6 separate regions of the Homo sapiens genome follow, and regions 1, 2, 4, 5 and 6 are each linked to region 3. Evidence: promoter capture Hi-C in human tissues and cell types (Jung and others, 2019). All regions are on one chromosome and are shown on one strand. The core of a region is centred on a gene start or on the middle of the fragment in contact, and the rest is flanking DNA. Distances in the headings are between cores, read along the strand shown.

Region 1 (2,700 bases), core at 157-2,656, 410 kb after region 3:
CTGGTCTCGAACTTCTGACCTCGTGATCCGCCCACCTCGGCATCCCAAAGTGCTGGGATTACAGGCGTGAGCCACCACACCTGGCCAAATACAGCTCTTTTACCTCCTGCTCTGCATATGAAATCTGTTCGGAGGGAGCAGCCCTCCTCTGGCCAGGATGAAAACTCTGGCAGGCCCTCGACTTTCCTATGTACTCTCAGGTAATAAGCAGTTGCTCTAATTACCAAACACAATCTCTTTAAAAAATTATTATTTTTAGAGACATTGTCTCGCTTTTTCACTCTGTTGCTCAGAATGAAGTGCAATGGCACAATCATAGCTCACTGCACCCTTGAACTCCTGGGCTCAAGCAATCCTCCCACTTCAGCCTCTCTAGAAGCTGGGATTACAGGTGCATGCCACCATGCTCAGCTAGTTTTTAAATTTTTTGTAGAGACAGGGTCTTGCCATGTTGCCCAGAGTGGTCTCAAATTCCTGGCTTCAAGTGATCCACCCATCTCTGTCTCCCAAAGTGTTGGGATTACAGATATAATCCACCATGCCTGGCCCAAATACAGTCTTGATTCAGAAACTCAAGCCCAAGATATCAATCAAGTCTCCAGATTTGATCTAATGTGAGACCTTCTCACATTAGAAGAGTCTGCTTCTACAGGGGAAGTGGGCAGTTCTCCTCCTCTCCATTTCTCTTATCTTGTACTACTCTCTCTCCTGCATCCAAGCCCATCACCCAGCTTCCCAGCCAGTTTTTGGCCCCTGAAGTAGGAAGGTAGGCAGTAAAAAGTGGTAAGGAGATAGAAAAGGACCTAAATTGGAAGCATCAAAAACTAGTTTCACACTGTCCAGGCCATAAATTACCAAAAAAAAAAAATGGCTATAATTCTTCACTCCTTCCTGAATCTGTGCCCTTTTCATGTGACCTTGCAATTGTTCTCACTAAAGAGGCAGAGTTGATTTTCCTACCCGTTAAATCTGGGCTGGCATTGTGACTTGCTTCAGCTGATAGAATGCTGTGGAAATGGTGGCCTTCCAGTTCCAAGCCCAGGCCTCAAGAGATCTTGCATACTTGTGCTGACTGTCATGATCTCCACGTGAATACCAGGCTAGCCTGCTGGAGGATGAGACACCACATGGAGCCAGGCCAAGTCACTCCAGCCAAGGCCAGCCTAGACCAGCCCTGTCCCAGACAACTTGCCAGCTGACAAAAAAACACATGAAAAAGCCCAGCCCAGTCCAGTCTAGACCAAAAAAGTCCAGCGGACAAGTCAATTACCACAGACTTTGTCATGGTTTGGAGCCAATAAGTTTTGGGGATGTTTGTTACACACCCCTATGATGGCAATAAGTAACAGCTACACTCCAGTTCTGGCAAATGTTCAAAGGTGATTCTCTTCTGGGGCACTCTCATGGACTCTTTGAAGAGCCCTGCTGTGGAAGGCCTCTCCCTGCAACTCTGAAGGCGTAGGGAATTCATATTTTCCTTCAGATCCTCCGATCTCCTCCCTCGGCTCTGTTTCTCCGGTGGTTCACTCCACCCTGTCTCTCCCTGTTGAGGTCACCTCATTTGAAATTGTAACTTTCAAATGAAACCCTTCAGGCCTGGAAAAACATAAAAGAGTGCAGAGAAATAAGCCAGGTACAAAAGAACAAATACTGTATGATTCCACAGATAAAGTATCAATAACAGGCAAATTCATAGAGACAAAAAGTCTAATAGAGGTGTCAGGGCTGAGGAGAGGGGGTTGGGGAGTTGTTTAATGGGTACAGAGTTTCTCTCTGAGATAATGAAAAAGTTCTGGGAGTGGATAGTATTGAGAGTGACACAACATGGAGAATTTATTTGATGCCACTGAATTGTATGCTTACACTTAATAGACTTAAATATGGTGTCTGGACAGGGCTGCCAATTCATTCCATGAAGGCAATGTCACTCTGCTACCAAAATCACACAAAGACATCACAAGAAAAGAAAACTAGGACGGGCACAGTGGCTAATGCCTGTAATCCCAGCACTTTGGGAGGCCAAGGTCAGAGGATCACCTGAGGTCAGGAGTTCGAGACCAGCCTGACCAACATGGTGAAACTCCATCTCTACTAAAAATACAAAAATTAGCCAGGCGTGGTGGCACATTCCTGTAGTCCCAGCTACTCAGGAGGCTGAGGCAGGAGAATCGCTTTAACCCAGGAGGCAGAGATTGCAGTGAGCCAAGATCGCACCACTACATTCCAGCCTGGATGACTCCGTCTCAAAAAAAGAAGAAAGAAAGAAAGAAGGAAGGAAAGAAAGAAAGAAAGAAAGAAAGAAAGAAAGAAAGAAAGAAAGAAAGAAAGAGAAAACTAAAGACCAATATCTCTTTTGAATGTACCATAAAACTCCTCAATCAAATATTAGCGAATTAAATCCAGAAACATATAAAGAGGATTATATGCCATGACCAAATGGGGATTTATCCCAGAAATCAAATGAGATTCTTATCTCAAGAATGCAAGTTTGATTTAACATCCAAAAATTAATATGATGTACCATATAGATAGAATAAAGAACAAAAATCACATGGTCATCTCAGGAGATACAAAAAAGGCATTTGACAAAATCCAGAACCCTTTCATAAAAACATGCAGCAAGTGAGGAATAGAAGGAAACTTCCTCAACCTGATCATATGTGAAAAACTCACAGTTACATTTCTTTTTATTTTTTATTT
Region 2 (2,700 bases), core at 44-2,543, 390 kb after region 3:
CTGCACGCGGCACCGTCCCACACAGAGGGTGGACCTGCAGAGCTCAGGCAGGGAGGTGGGCGTCTACGCGGATTCACTCGACACGCTGATGGGACACGCTCACGGCGTGCGGAGGCCAGGAGGGAAAGGGTCAGGGCCAGGCACAAAGTCTGAGTCGGGGAGGGGCAAGTTCGTGGCAAGAAAGCCCCACCCAGAGACAGGTCGAGAGAGCAGGTGCCCTGTAAAGTGGGGCGCTCCGGGTTCTTGTCCTGCCTCTGCCGCTCGCTCGCTGACGACCTGGGAGAAGTCGCTAAGCTCTGGAACTCCTCTGCTTCTCAGCAGCAAGACAACTGGCCTCGGGGGCCCTGCGGATCCCTCCAGCTCCGGGGCTGCTTCCTTACTTTCTTGTTTCTCCTTCAGTCAACAGATAAATGCCTGCCACGGACCAGGCACTGGGATCGGTGTCACTCAGATCACAGGACACTCAGATGTTGATAACGCGTAGGTAACACAGTGTAGAAGGAAAGGTCTGTAGCAGACAACGCAACACAGCGAGAGCCACAGCAAGCGGGGCACGAGCCGGGTGAAGGCAGATGGAAAACATCCCTGGGAGAGGGGAACCGGCGGCTTCCTCCAGGTGGTCATCGTGGATCCTCAAAGCTTAGCACAGTGTCTGGGCACAGAGCAGGGCCTCATAAATGTGTTCAATTTACATAGGCCCAGAAGAGGCGGGCGCGGTGGCTTATGCCTGTAATCCCAGCACTTAGGGAGGCCGAGGCGGGCGGATCACCTGTGGTTGGGAGGTCGAGACCAGCCTGGCCAACATGGTGAAACCCCATCTCTACTAAAAATACAAAAAAAAATTAGCTGGGCGCGGTGGCGGGCACCTGTAAGAAAGGCGCTCGGGAAGCTGAGGCAAGAGAATCACTTGAATCCGGGAGGCAAATGTTGCAGTGAGCCGAGATTGCACCGCTGCACTCCAGCCTGGGCAACAAGAGTGAAACTCCATCTCAATAAATAAATAAATATGGCTTTAAGGTATACTTGATATACAAAACACGGCATATATTTAATATATACAATTTGATGAGTTTGGTGTCAGCACAGTTTTTACAAAGCAAGAACATACTCACAGCGGATGGGTGTGCGGCTGGGCCTGATACATGGGAAGGTGGAGTGGGGAGAAGGGTCTTTCTAGAAGCAGAGGGGCAGCAGAATCTCTGGAGGGCTCCTCGCTCTATGAGGAGAAGGGTCTTTCTAGAAGCAGAGGGGCAGCAGAATCTCTGGAGGGCTCCTCGCTCTATGAGGAGAAGGGGTTGTTCTCTTATAGGCTGGAAAGCAGTTCTCAAGCCTGGGGAGACGGGTGGGTTTTAGGACAGAGGGCCTGGCTTCCCCCCATGTGAGGTATTGATGTGGACTGAATTGTGTCCCCTTAAAATCCATGTTCAAGCCCTAACCCTCAGGGTGACTGTATTTGGAGATAGGGCCTCTAAGGAAGACATTAAGGTTAAATTAGGTTATAAGGGTGGGGCCCTGACACAGCAGGGTTAGTGTCCTTGTGCTGTAGGGCAAAACGGGGTTGCTGCCCGATGTGCTAGAAGCCAATCTTATGATGCTGAGTTTTTGAGAAAATAAAACCTTTGTATTGAAACTCAGCTCCCAAGGAGACAGGAGACAAGCTCAAGTCTGTCTCCCGGTGCTGGAATACTTCAAGGCAGTGTTTTTTATTTATTTACTTTTTTTTGTTTTTTTTTTTTTGAGACAGAGTTTCACTCTTGTTGCTCAGGCTGGAGTACAGTGGCACGATCTCGGCTCACTGCAACCTCCGCCTCCCAGGTTCAAGCGATTCTCCTCCCTCAGCCTCGAGACTAGCTGGGATTACAGGCACCCGCCACCATACCTGGCTAATTTTTGTATTTTTAGTAGAGACAGGGTTTCACCATGTTGGCCAGGCTAGTCTCGGACTCCTCAAGTGATCTGCCCACTACGGCCTCCCAAAATGCTGGTATTACAGGCCTGGACCACTGTGCCTGGCCTCAAGGCAGTATTTTTATTAGGAAAGGTCCAAGGGGTGGATTCTGGGATCTGTAGGTGATTGGCGGAAGAAAGTGGAGGTCTGGAAAGTCCTTAGGCATGTGCAGTCACCTCTTCATGCTACCTCGTGTGTCACATGTGCAAATTCAGGGGGCGATTCAGGCTGCGACGTTGGCAGGCGGGTTCTGCACGGACTCCAGCCGGTCCCCGGGGCTGCGACTGACTTCAGCCCATTCTTTCATCTCATGGGCAGAGGAAGCTTCAGTATTCCAGCCAGCTGTTTCCTTTCTCATCTGCCACCCTGCAAACTCAAGAATTTCTGCTGGCCGTCTGTATCTTTGACTCTTGGGGGCACGGTTTTACTTACAAGAGAAAGACACCATGGAGCCCGCACCCTCTCTCTCTGCCGTGTGAGGACGCAGTGAGAAGGCGGTGTCTGCAGACCAGCAAGGGAGGCCTCCCAGAGCCCTGCCATGCCACACCCTGAGCTTGTGAGAAATGAGTGTGTGTGGTTTCAGCCACGCAGTCCATGCTGCTTTGTTAGGGCAGCCGGAGGTGACCAACGTGGCTGTCAACCTTTGCTTCCCCAACCACCTCCACTGGTTCCTACCCCTCTCCTCCTTGGCCCACTCCCCTCCAGCTCCCAGCCAGGCCACCCCCCTGAGGCTGCAGAGGCCAAGATCACCA
Region 3 (2,700 bases), core at 22-2,521:
AGTGCAGTGGCGAGATCTCAGCTCTCTGCAACCTCTGCCTCCCAGGTTCAAGCGATTCTCCTGTCTCAGCCTCCTGAGTAGCTGGGATTACGGGCATGCACCACCACGCCCAGCTAATTTTGTATTTTTAATAGAGATGGGGTTTCTCCATGTTGGCCGGGCTGGTCTTGAACTCCTGACCTCAGGTGATCCTCCCACCTCGGCCTCCCAAAGTGCTGGGATTACAGGCATGAGCCATCACCTCTCTCTTACATTTTATATGGGGCCCTCCCAGCTCCTGGAGCTGTGGCTGTCACCCCCCATCTGATGGAGGGGTCAGGTGAGCCTTGTGGGAATCCCAGAAGCTGGGGACTGGGAAGGGCCCTGTTCAAGGGGCTGGACGCTCCCTGTGGTGAAGCCCAACTCTACCATTTGTTGATTGCACAATGTTGGCACAATGTTGGGCAAGTTATTTCACTCTGTGAGCCTCAATGTCCTCAACTGGAAAATGGGGAGAAGAATAATCTCTACCTCACGGAAGTAGTTCATGTTAGTTCATGTGAAATCAGACATCTAAAAGTGCTCTGCGAAGCAGGCAGGAAGCACCGGCTGTGCCCTGCCTTCACTGGGATCACTCTGCCCCCACCACAGGGACTTGGGAAACTGCTTGGTTTTACCATCCAAGAGACCTGGGGGTGGGAGATAAGGAGCAAACCCTCTACTTCTTCAAGCCCTCACTCCAGCAAATCCTCCAGGCAGCCAGGCAATGCTGAAGTCCCTGTCCAAGGGGGTCTAGGCTGAGCCCGGGTGGAGTGGGTTCTTGGGCCAAGGTGCCTGGAGGGGACTGAAGGCCTCTACCCAAAGTCCTCATGAGAACTGGGTGGGGGAGCCTGTGTTCAGGTGAGGGGTACGGAGGCACCTCTGTGGCACAGCCTTTGCGAGGAGGGCTGTGGAGGGAGACCTCCGGGGCCGGGGTCGAAGGACATCGTGTGGGCGCGACCGCAGTGCTGGGCGGGGGGCGGGCGCTTGGGCTTGGGCCCTGCGTCCTGTGCGTGTTGGTTTCCTGTGGGCACGTGGGGCCCTCGGAAGAGGGGAGGAGGGTGAGCACGTCCTCAGAGGGCAGACCCAGCGAGGCGTCGTGGCAGCTGCGGCCGCGGAGACGCCGGCTCCGCCTCTTGCACACGCCCCCTCGCCTGAGGCCCCGCCCCGCCCGCGATGCCCCCGCCCCCTTCCCCGCCCCGCCCCCCGGGGCGCCGAGACCCGCCCCTGGGCCCGCCCCCGGGTCCGCCCCCGGCCTCCGTTTGCGCCGGGTCTGTGCTGGCCGCGCGCCTGGCGCTCCACGCTGAGCCTCTCCGTGCAATGATTAACCCGGCGGGGCGGCCGGCGCGGGACCCGAGACGGAGGCGCGGGGCCGGGGCGGGACCCCGCAGGACCGCTCGGCTTCCTGCTCTCGCCGGAGTTTCCGCGTAGAGGGCGCATCGCCGGCCCGGGGCCCTTGGTGCGGCGTGGCGCAGGGCGCGGCGTGGGGCGCGCGTGGGCGCGGCGCAGGCGGCCCGGGTCACCATGAGGACTCTCCGCAGGTTGAAGTTCATGAGTTCGCCCAGCCTCAGTGACCTGGGCAAGAGAGAGCCGGCCGCCGCCGCGGACGAGCGGGGCACGCAGCAGCGCCGGGCCTGCGCCAACGCCACCTGGAACAGGTAAGGCCGCGCCCTCCCGGCCACCCGGAGGCCCTGGAGCCGGGGGAGGGGACCCCTGAGCCGTCCGCGGGCTAGGGGCCGCCCCGAGCCAGGAACGCTGCCGAAGGCGGCGCGGCGCTTCACAGTTTGCAAAGAACTTGCCCCGCCGGAGTGGTGCGGGCCTGGAGGAAAGTTCAGTGCAGCGTGGTTCCAGAACCCAGGGAAGGGAGCGAGGCCCGCCAGCGCCCGGGGCTGGCCCAGAAGCGCCCGGCGGGTGGGCGGCGGGGTGGGCCGGGAAGCCGCGTGCCCGCCTCCTACCCGGGGTCTTTCCACGTCTCCACTGCGGTGCTCGTGACAACCTGGGAGGCTAACGGAGCAGGAAGTATTTTTCCCATTTTGCGGCTGAGCACGGGAGCCTCGGGGCTCAGTGGGTGGGTCGCGCAGGCTTCCTGTGTCTCTTTAAGCTCCCTTCGGCTTTCCCTTGAGAGGCCCCCTGTCCTCCAGCTGTCAGCAGGGGGTGCGGCAGCTGCGAGGCATTCTTTAGAGGACTCTCCTCCAGGGGTCATTCCCAGACAAGCAGGGGCCTGGGAAGCCCCTTCTCCCAGCTTTGTTTGAGGAGCAAGTCCGGGATCTGGAAAAGAGACGGTTTATTTAGTGGAACTCCCCAGCGTCTCTGCTCCCTAGGAAAATGAGAGGCAGGAGAAAGTGAGGCAGGCTGTTCGCGGGAGGCAGTGGACACTGTTCGGGGGAGGCTGTGGACACTGTTCGGGGGAGGCTGTGGACGTTGCCCCTCTCGCGCCCACACCTGGCAGTAAAATCTTGCCAGATGCTCCACCGGCTGTGGTCTTGGCCACCGGGAACCCGGCTGTCACTTGGACACACGTTATTTTCAGTTCATTGAATGCATTGTGAGCGTCATGGTGGGCTCAGGGCTGCCAGCGAGACCCTCTTCAAACGTGGTCTCTTCTGTCTCTGAGTTGCAAACTGCTAGAGGGCTGTCACATGCCTGCCTCCGTTTCCCTCTCCGTCAGTGGGTATTCGCATT
Region 4 (2,700 bases), core at 173-2,672, 280 kb after region 3:
GGGGTGTGGCGGTGGAAACAGCGCTGGGCTAGGGGGTCATGGCACACAGGTTCTCTCCTGGTTCTGCCAGGACTGGCCCAGACTAAGTCACTTCTCCATTCTCAGCCTCAGTGTTTTTTTTTCAGATGAGGGGAACCCGGTGTCCCTGCCGCCTCTGCTGCCTATCAGCTTCTGTGTATCTCACTGCAGGAGTGAATGAGTGAGTGAATGACCCAGTATGAGTACTTTGCAAAGGCTGATCTGGGGCAGGGAGAGAGAAGAGGAAAGACGACAAGATCATGACTGAGCATCCACTTGGGGCAGGCACACCCTTGCCATCACCTACGTGCAACCCTGGGGAGCTGGCACTACCAAACCCTTCCACAGATGAGAAACCTGGGGCTCGGAAAGTCATCCGATTACCCTAAGAGGGCACAGGCCAGCCAGCCAAGTCTGCAGGACTCTAAGCCCGTGTCCTCCCCACTCCTCCACAGGCCCAAGTGCTCGGCGGGTCCTAAGCAAACTCCCCCATGGGCTCACATCTCGCAGCCACTGCTTCTGCCCAAGCAAGAGACGCACATAACCAAGAAGCCAGAAGCTCAACTCCCGTCAAATGAGGCTGTCGATTTTAATTAATTTCAGACTTTGTGTGTTTCTGGCAATTATTTGTAACAAGGTTTACAGAGGGCATTTAAAATTAATGGTGATTTTTATCTGGAAATCATTGATTATTTTTAAGTAGCTCATTAGGGGTGAGTGTGTATTACGGGAGCAGCAGGCTCTGTCAGGAAGGAGGCACCTGGGGCTACCAGGAGGAGCCAGAAGAAGGAAGACGTCTGAACTGTGACAAGTTCAAAGCCAGCAGAGATTATGAAATGATGCTCCCCAAGACAGAATCTGATTTGGACCAAGATGTATGCAAGGGGCCGGGCGCGGTGGCTCATGCCTGTAATCCCAGCACTTTGGGAGACCGAGGTGGGAGAATCACTTCAGGTTAGGAGTTTGAGACCAGCCGGACCAACCCTGTCTCCACTAAAAATTCAAAAATTAGCCGGGCATGGTGGCAGGCGCCTGTAATCCCAGCTACTCAGGAAGCTGAAGCAGGAGAATTGCTTGAACCCAGGAGGCGGAGGTTACAGTGAGCCGAGATCATGCCACTGCACTCCAGCCTGGGCGACAGAGCGAGACTCTGTCTCAAAAAAAAAAAAAAAAAAAGGCAAAACCGGGGGAAATCTAGTGAATGACCTAAAACGGGAAAGCGAGTTGGGCTCCTCTTGCTTCTCACCCATTGACCTGCAGACATGTTGGCATGTTTGCTGCCGCTGGTGGCTCTTAGGGAGGTCCAGCTGTCCCTAGCCACTTGGCCCAGGGGAACTCACTACCTCAGGCAGAGGCTTCAGCATGAACCCCCACTAGTGGCAAAGGCCCTGAGGAAACCGGAACAAAGACTGCAGGGAGGGGTCCCTGTGGGCATCAGCAGACAAGCCTGGAAGAGCTGGGCCCTGGGCCGTCGCAAACACCACACCAAAGGGCAGGCGAGGGAGGCTTAGCACATCATCTTCTGTACTTTTTGTATTTTTTAAAAGTATTTTAAAAGACATAAGTTTGAAAATCTACCCTAAGAAAAACCAATGCAGATGAAGAGAAATGTCTAAACACCAATCACATAAAATGTTAAATGGAAACAATCTAACATCACAGACTGTTTACAAACTGCTACAGTTTTTACTTCCTGCTTTTTACTCAGAGGATTAAACTCCAGGGTAGTCCTCTGAATTATAATAAAACCACTAATATTTGCATAAGCCTTTATAGCTGATACAGATATTATTTCCATTTTGCAGGTGGGAAAAGGGAAGTTTGGGGAGATTCCATGCCCAAGTATTCAAGGCATGTACTCTGAGGAACTGGAGCTGGGCCCCTTTCCGACATGCCGATGTCCTCAATCTTTCCCAGAGGTTAGCAAGGCATGACAGCCACCGCCATCATCATTGGCATCATCACCACCATCATCACTATCATCATCATCACCATCACCACCACCATCACCATCATCATCACCATCATCACCACCATAACCACCATCACCATCATCATGATCACCATCATCATCACCACCATCACCACCATCATCACCATCACAACCACCATCATCACCACCACTACCACCATCATCACCACCACCATCACCATCACCACCCTCATTACCACCACCATCATCATCACCATCACCACCACCACCACCACCATCATCATCATCATCACCACCACAAAAGGGCCAGTAAGAGCTGAAGAAGCATGACCTTCACATCTTTCCATCTGGTCAGGTGGCCAGGGAAAAGGTTAACCTTACCCAGAGCCTTGGTTCTCAAACTTCAGGGGATCCCGAATCTTGTGGGAAGCATGTTACACACAGACTCCTGGACCCAGTGGTGGATTCCCCAGGTATGGGGAGGCACCAGGCTTCCGCAGGTGAACAGAGCTCGGGGATTCAGGTGCAGTCAAGGGGCTGGCTCTGAGGGCCCCTGTGCAAAGCCTGGCAATGCCGTAGCTGGAGGCACATCTGAGAGTTAAACACCTGCTCAGCATGAGAATGAAAGTGCGTGACATACATGCTTATTTGTATTTCAATCCTGCTCTGTAAGTTATTAATTTAATTTGTAAGGTGATAGGACTGCTTATCCTGTTATTTCATGGAAAGCTTTATTTTTCAAGAAAAGT
Region 5 (2,700 bases), core at 1-2,500, 430 kb after region 3:
GGGTTTCACCATGTTGGCCAGGCTGGTCTTGAACTCCTGGCCTCAAGTGATCCAACCACCTCGGCCTCCCAAAGTGCTGGGATTACAGATGTGAGCTACTGCTCCTGGCCTGAACCTGGCTTTGAATACAAATGAGCATATGTGTATGTGTCTGAGAGAGTGGCAGACTCGGGGGAAGCAGGCTGAGTGAAAAGGGACAAAGGAGGCCAGAGGGAAGAAGGAGAAGCAGAGAGGGGAGCACCAAGTATCTACCCACCACCTGGAATCTTCCGGATCCTGCGTGGCCCTGGAAATGACCTGCCTATGGCTTCAGACACGGCGACTTTAGGATGCCATCATAACACCCTCATTTTGGCAGACCTCCTGGGCCTTAAAGCTTCACCATCTCACTCAAAATTCACGGTGGCTTTTCCAAGCTAGCTTTCATTTGCCTTGAGATTGTCAGAATTACCTAGTGCCTCCCATTTTTCTTGCCTCCTCGCTCATCAATGCCAGTATTGCTTTCATACCCTAAGGACTGCTGTCTTTTAGCATCTTCTCTTTCATAATGAGTTAACTACAAATACACACCCCTCGGGATCAGAAAAGTAATGTGGCCTACAAGGAGTGTAAAAGCATTTGTAAACTTTATTTGTAAACCATATACATTTTAAAAAGAAAGTCAAATATTTTCTTTTTTTTTTTTTTTTGAGACAAAGTCTTGCTCTGTCGCCCAGGCGGTAGTACAGTGGCACTATCTTGGCTCACTGCAACCTCTGCCCCCCCAGGTTCAAGTGATTCTCCCTGCCTCAGCCTCCCAAGTAGCTGGGATTACAGGTGCCCACCACCATGCCCGGCTAATTTTTGTATTTTTAGTAGAGATAGGGTTTCGCCATGTTGGCCAGGCTGGTCTCGAACTCTTAGACTCAAGTGATCCACCCAACTCAGGCCCCCAAAGTGCTGCGATTACAGGTGTGTGCCACCATGCCCGGCCAAATATTTTCTTAAAAAGTAGGATCTAAAGTAATTCAAGGGCTGGGCATGGTGGCTCATGCCTGTAATCCCAGCAATTTGGGAGGCTGAGGTGGGCAGATCACGTGAGATCAGGAGTTCGAGACCAGCCTGGCCAATGTGGCAAAACCCCGTCTCTACTAAAAATACAGAAATTAGCTGGGCATGGTGGTGGGCGCCCATAATCCCAGCTACTCAGGAGGCTGAGGCAGGAGAATCGTTTGAACCCAGCAGGAGGAGGTTGCAGTGAGCTGAGATCGCACCACTGCACTCCAGCCTGGGTGACACAGCAACACTCTGTCTCCAAAAAATAAATAAATAAATAAATAAAATAAAGTAATTCAGGCAGAATTTTAAAATAAAGCCTTCTCCAATTTTTTCTGAGCAAGGAAAAAGAAGGAAATAAATCAGTATTTGTTGGGGGTGTACAAAATGCCCAGAACTGCGCTAGCCCCACCTTCTGTCTCAGTGGTGTGTGGTCTTCCCAGCAATGCTTAGAAAGAGAGAACGGTGTCCTCATTTCACAGATGGGGAAATAATAAGGGCTCAGGAAGGTGACATACTTCTAATAAAACTGAAATCTGAGCTGAGCTTGGTCTGACTTTTACAAGTGCATTGGACTTTTTCCACTCTAGGAAAACTTCCTCAGCTCTAACTTCCAGGTAGACTCGGGTTAATAAATGTCATGTCACAGAAAGTTCTAGCAAAGCCCATGGCTTCACAAAGCAGATGGTTTGATATGAACTTAATGTTTTTGTCTAGAATTATCCTTCATAAATGTAGGAAAGGCAAAGACAGCCCTTCACCTTCTGGTAAAACACAGGCCTCAATTTCTCCTGCTCCCTCCATCTTAACCTCTTCATTGAGGAAAAAATAATGCTAAGTGACTCTTGTCCAACATGAGTTTAGTGGTCAAAGGCAGAGTAGAAATTACTTAGATGAGGCTCATAGTAACACTATACCCATGATAACAGCCATATTATTCAGGATAAAGTCCAGGCAGCTAAAACAGAGAGACTCTAAAAGACAGTGACTCACAGAAAGTCCTTATCATATAACAGTCCCAAAGTCGGGACAGTGAGAGGGCTCATGACGTCACTCAAGGACCCAGGCCCTTTCCACCTTGTTGCTCTGCCAGACTGCAGAGTACTGTTTTCGCCCCATGGTCAAAGCTGGGTGGGAGCACATGCACATTCCAGCTTGTGAGAAGAGGAAAGAGCACCGCTGCAGGACCAGGGCTCATCTTCCATGCCCAGGGCTCATTTTCCATGCTGGGGACGACCTAGAAGTTGCACCATCATCACTGCACACGTTCTGTGCTTGGCCACAAGGCCGCACTAGCAACAAAGCAGACAAGAAGTGTAGTCTCTCCCTGGGCCCAATGGCAATTCTGTTCCTGTGGAAGAAGGGGAGACCAGATTTTAGTGTCCAACTATTAATTGCAACCTGCCACAATAACAACCATAGTTTACATCTGTACTTTGCTTTACAGTTAATCAAATACTTTCATACCCTCCAAGCCACCTAATCTAACAACAAACCTTTGAGTAGGCAACATTTCTCTCATGTTATACATGAGAAAACAGTACCAAATGCATTAAGGAAATAGGGTAAGGCATAGGTTGGAGTTTTAAATGCTCAGTGGGAATGCACCCCCTGTGGTGACTAAATATTGGTAGAACCCAAAAGAAAAGCTTGTTCAGTTTGTTC
Region 6 (2,700 bases), core at 136-2,635, 470 kb after region 3:
GGAGGTTTGCTTGAGCCCAGGAGTTCAAGGCTGCTGTGACCTGTGATTGCACCACTGCACTCCAGCCTGGGCAACAGGGTGAGACCCTGTCTAAAAAACAAAGAATAAAACACAGCTGTACTTATAGGATGTGGGCGAAGGATTACCCAGGTGCCGAGGCAAGAGACTGAAGGCACAAACTGTTTCAGTATAATACATAAAATAGTTAGAATAAGAATAGTCATAATACAAATTAGATACAGAGATGATCACGGGCATTATCAATCATTAGTATAAACATTACTAGTCATTAGCTTTTAATATTACTCTTTGTTGTACTACTAATATAACCAAGGAATAACCGGCAGATACAGGGTCAGGTGCTGAAGGGACATTGTGAGAAGTGACCTAGAAGGCAAGAGGTGAGCCAGCCCTCTGTCACGCCCGCATAAGGGCCGCTTGAGGGCTCCTTGGTCAAGTGGTAACGCCAGTGCCTGGGAAGGCACCTGTTACTTAGTAGACCGTGAAAGGGAGTCTCCTTTACTTGGAGGAGTCAGGGAACACTCTGCTCCACCACCTTCTTGTGGGAGATTGGATATTGTCCAGGCTTGCCAGTAGTCATCCAGAGGCTTGAACCCCTCCCTGTGGTGCTGTGCTTCAGTGGTCACACTCCTTGTCCACATTCATGCTCCTCCCGTAGTCCTGGTTCCTCTTTGAAGTTCTTAGTAGATAGCAGTAGAAGAAATAGTGAAAGTTTTAAAGTCTTTGATCTTTCTGATAAGTGCATAGAAGAAAATGCTGACGTACGCCGCCTTCCTTCTCTGCTTCAGCTACCTAAAAGGGAAGGGCCCCTGTCCCATGATCACGTGACTTGCTTGACCTTGTCAATCCCCTGGACGACTCATCCTCCTCACCCTGCTCCCTTGTCTTGTATGCAATAAATATCAGCACGCCCAGCCATTCAGGGCCACTGCCGGTCTCCGTGTCTTGGTGGTAGTAGTCCCCCAGGCCCAGCTGTTTTCTCTTTATCTCTTTGTCTTGTGTCTTTATTTCTTACAATCTCTGTTTCCCCCTTCGAGGAGAACACCCGCAAAGCCCAGTAGGGCTGGACTCTACAGTCGTACCTTATCAGCAGTGTGTTACCCCCAGGCCAGATGACTAAGGAAATCTGTAACCACGACTTTCAGGTTAACAGCATAGTGCTAAGTGAAAAAAGAAAAATGTTAAAACTGCAACTGTTTCCAAGCTTATTCTTAGACGGCCATCTTCCTTCTTTTGGAATCTTTCTGGTACTAGTACTTTTTTTCTCTACAAGTGTATCTCCTCACATATGTTTAGGGAAACCAGAATCCCAAGGATGTGAGTGTTTTGACAGGGTCAAAACTGATTTGGTGCTTTTTAACTAAAATCTTTGGTTATGGGGGTTTTTGGTTTTTTGTTGTTGTTGGTTTAAGATCTTAAGCACAGTTACATTCTGGGCTATAGTAACATCTAGATTACCATGTAACTATTTGCTTAGACATTAAAATATTCAGGAATGAAAGAACTCCCATTCGAACATATGCCAATGAAATGTGTGGAAAGATTACATTTAGTTAAGTACATTTAACTTGGGGCAAGTGCAGCCAGATGGTCCCCTCTATGAGTGTAGGAGCCCGTTAAGTTTAATATGATCTGAAACAACTATAGGTGAGAATTTTTGCATGAGAAATATTTTATTCCGACCCTACAGGGTAAAAGAAGGGCTATAAACTAAAGCCGAAGATATTCAGCAGCTTTCTGACGTGGACATCAGAAGTGTGGACATGAGTGTGCTTTGAGCGCACTGTGGAAGAGCAGTGGTTGTCCAGCAAGGTCCTAGGTGCCTCCGTGGCCTTTCGTACAGTGGGCAAGTTGGGCAGGACTCATCTTAAAAATCATGTGTATGTTATAAATAACAAAATTTATTTATTTATTTTTTTGAGACAGTCTTGCTCTGTTGCCCAGGCTGGAGTGCAGTGGTGCTATCTCGGCTCACTGCAACCTCCACCTCCCGGAGGGTTCAAGTGATTCTCCTGCCTCAGCCTCCCAGGTGGCTGGGATTACAGGTGCCCACCACCATGCCCAGCTAATTTTTCATTTTTAGTAGCGACAGAGTTTCACCATGTTGGCCAGACTGGTCTCAAACTCCTGACCTTTGGCCTCCCAAAGCGCTAGTATTATAGGCGCAAGCCATTGTGCCTGGCCAAAATTTATTTTTGAGAGGCCGGACACAGTGGCTCAGTTCTAGCTTGTTGTTGTTGTTGAGGATTTTGTCATCTGTTTGGCTTTATCTTACTGCTGCTTAATTTGTATTGTATTGCAGGTGGGAACATTCTCCATGGCCAGTGAGGAAGTCTTGAAGAATAGAGCCATAAAGAAAGCAAAGCGCAGAAATGTTGGATTTGAAGTGAGTGCCCCCTTACAGCTCTTGCTATTAAATACTCATTTGATTTCTGGGTTGCACAGCAATCCCTCCGCTGGGAGCAATGATATCAACAAATGCTTTCTTAAAATACTTATTCTTTGATGTAGGTCATGGGAGATAGAAAAAAATAAGAAACGTCAGGTCTGGACCTTAAAGAGAGCTTATCCAGTTGAGGAAATAAGATAAATATAGACAAATTCAAGTTGAGTGACAATCTGGAGAAGAAAAATGAGCAAAGCAATACAGAGGTGGGCGAAGTGGCATCAGATTGGAGG

What was found. Contacts are between HindIII fragments. The study calls those that stand out against the background at their distance.
Region 1: a contact is called between a fragment that was not itself captured here and the fragment with the promoter of PRR5-ARHGAP8 in region 3, in 1 of the 25 tissues and cell types used here (dorsolateral prefrontal cortex).
Region 2: a fragment that was not itself captured here is called in contact with the fragment with the promoter of PRR5-ARHGAP8 in region 3 in 3 of the 25 tissues and cell types used here (dorsolateral prefrontal cortex, mesenchymal stem cells and mesendoderm cells).
Region 4: a contact is called between a fragment that was not itself captured here and the fragment with the promoter of PRR5-ARHGAP8 in region 3, in 2 of the 25 tissues and cell types used here (adrenal gland and lymphoblastoid cells).
Region 5: a fragment that was not itself captured here is called in contact with the fragment with the promoter of PRR5-ARHGAP8 in region 3 in 4 of the 25 tissues and cell types used here (IMR-90 fibroblasts, dorsolateral prefrontal cortex, lymphoblastoid cells and 1 more).
Region 6: a contact is called between a fragment that was not itself captured here and the fragment with the promoter of PRR5-ARHGAP8 in region 3, in 1 of the 25 tissues and cell types used here (ovary).

Annotation. Positions count from the first base shown.
Region 1 is chr22:45,111,386-45,114,085 of GRCh38, forward strand. No RefSeq gene overlaps it. Among named protein-coding and RNA genes, the nearest start is that of NUP50-DT, 51 kb to the right of the region's middle. The HindIII fragment of the contact is 8,481 bases long and covers 1-2,700 here.
Region 2 is chr22:45,091,322-45,094,021 of GRCh38, forward strand. No RefSeq gene overlaps it. Among named protein-coding and RNA genes, the nearest start is that of NUP50-DT, 71 kb to the right of the region's middle. RefSeq lists an enhancer at 2,437-2,700. The HindIII fragment of the contact is 3,268 bases long and covers 1-2,700 here.
Region 3 is chr22:44,700,933-44,703,632 of GRCh38, forward strand. PRR5-ARHGAP8 (PRR5-ARHGAP8 readthrough) reads left to right here and starts at 1,272. Exons shown (of 15, transcript NM_181334.6): 1 at 1,272-1,676. The coding sequence starts at 1,543. It overlaps PRR5 (proline rich 5), which reads left to right and starts at 1,272. Exons shown (of 8, transcript NM_181333.4): 1 at 1,272-1,676. The coding sequence starts at 1,543. RefSeq lists a silencer at 1,146-1,555. The HindIII fragment of the contact is 17,168 bases long and covers 1-2,700 here.
Region 4 is chr22:44,982,059-44,984,758 of GRCh38, forward strand. The region is part of intron 2 of PHF21B (PHD finger protein 21B); the gene reads right to left. Among named protein-coding and RNA genes, the nearest start is that of PHF21B, 27 kb to the right of the region's middle. RefSeq lists an enhancer at 45-665. The HindIII fragment of the contact is 5,297 bases long and covers 1-2,700 here.
Region 5 is chr22:45,132,412-45,135,111 of GRCh38, forward strand. NUP50-DT (NUP50 divergent transcript) reads right to left here. Exons shown (of 3, transcript NR_038956.1): 3 at 1,347-2,386. Among named protein-coding and RNA genes, the nearest start is that of NUP50-DT, 30 kb to the right of the region's middle. The HindIII fragment of the contact is 4,653 bases long and covers 1-2,700 here.
Region 6 is chr22:45,169,277-45,171,976 of GRCh38, forward strand. It overlaps NUP50 (nucleoporin 50), which reads left to right. Exons shown (of 8, transcript NM_007172.4): 3 at 2,324-2,407. Among named protein-coding and RNA genes, the nearest start is that of NUP50, 6.7 kb to the left of the region's middle. The HindIII fragment of the contact is 3,699 bases long and covers 1-2,700 here.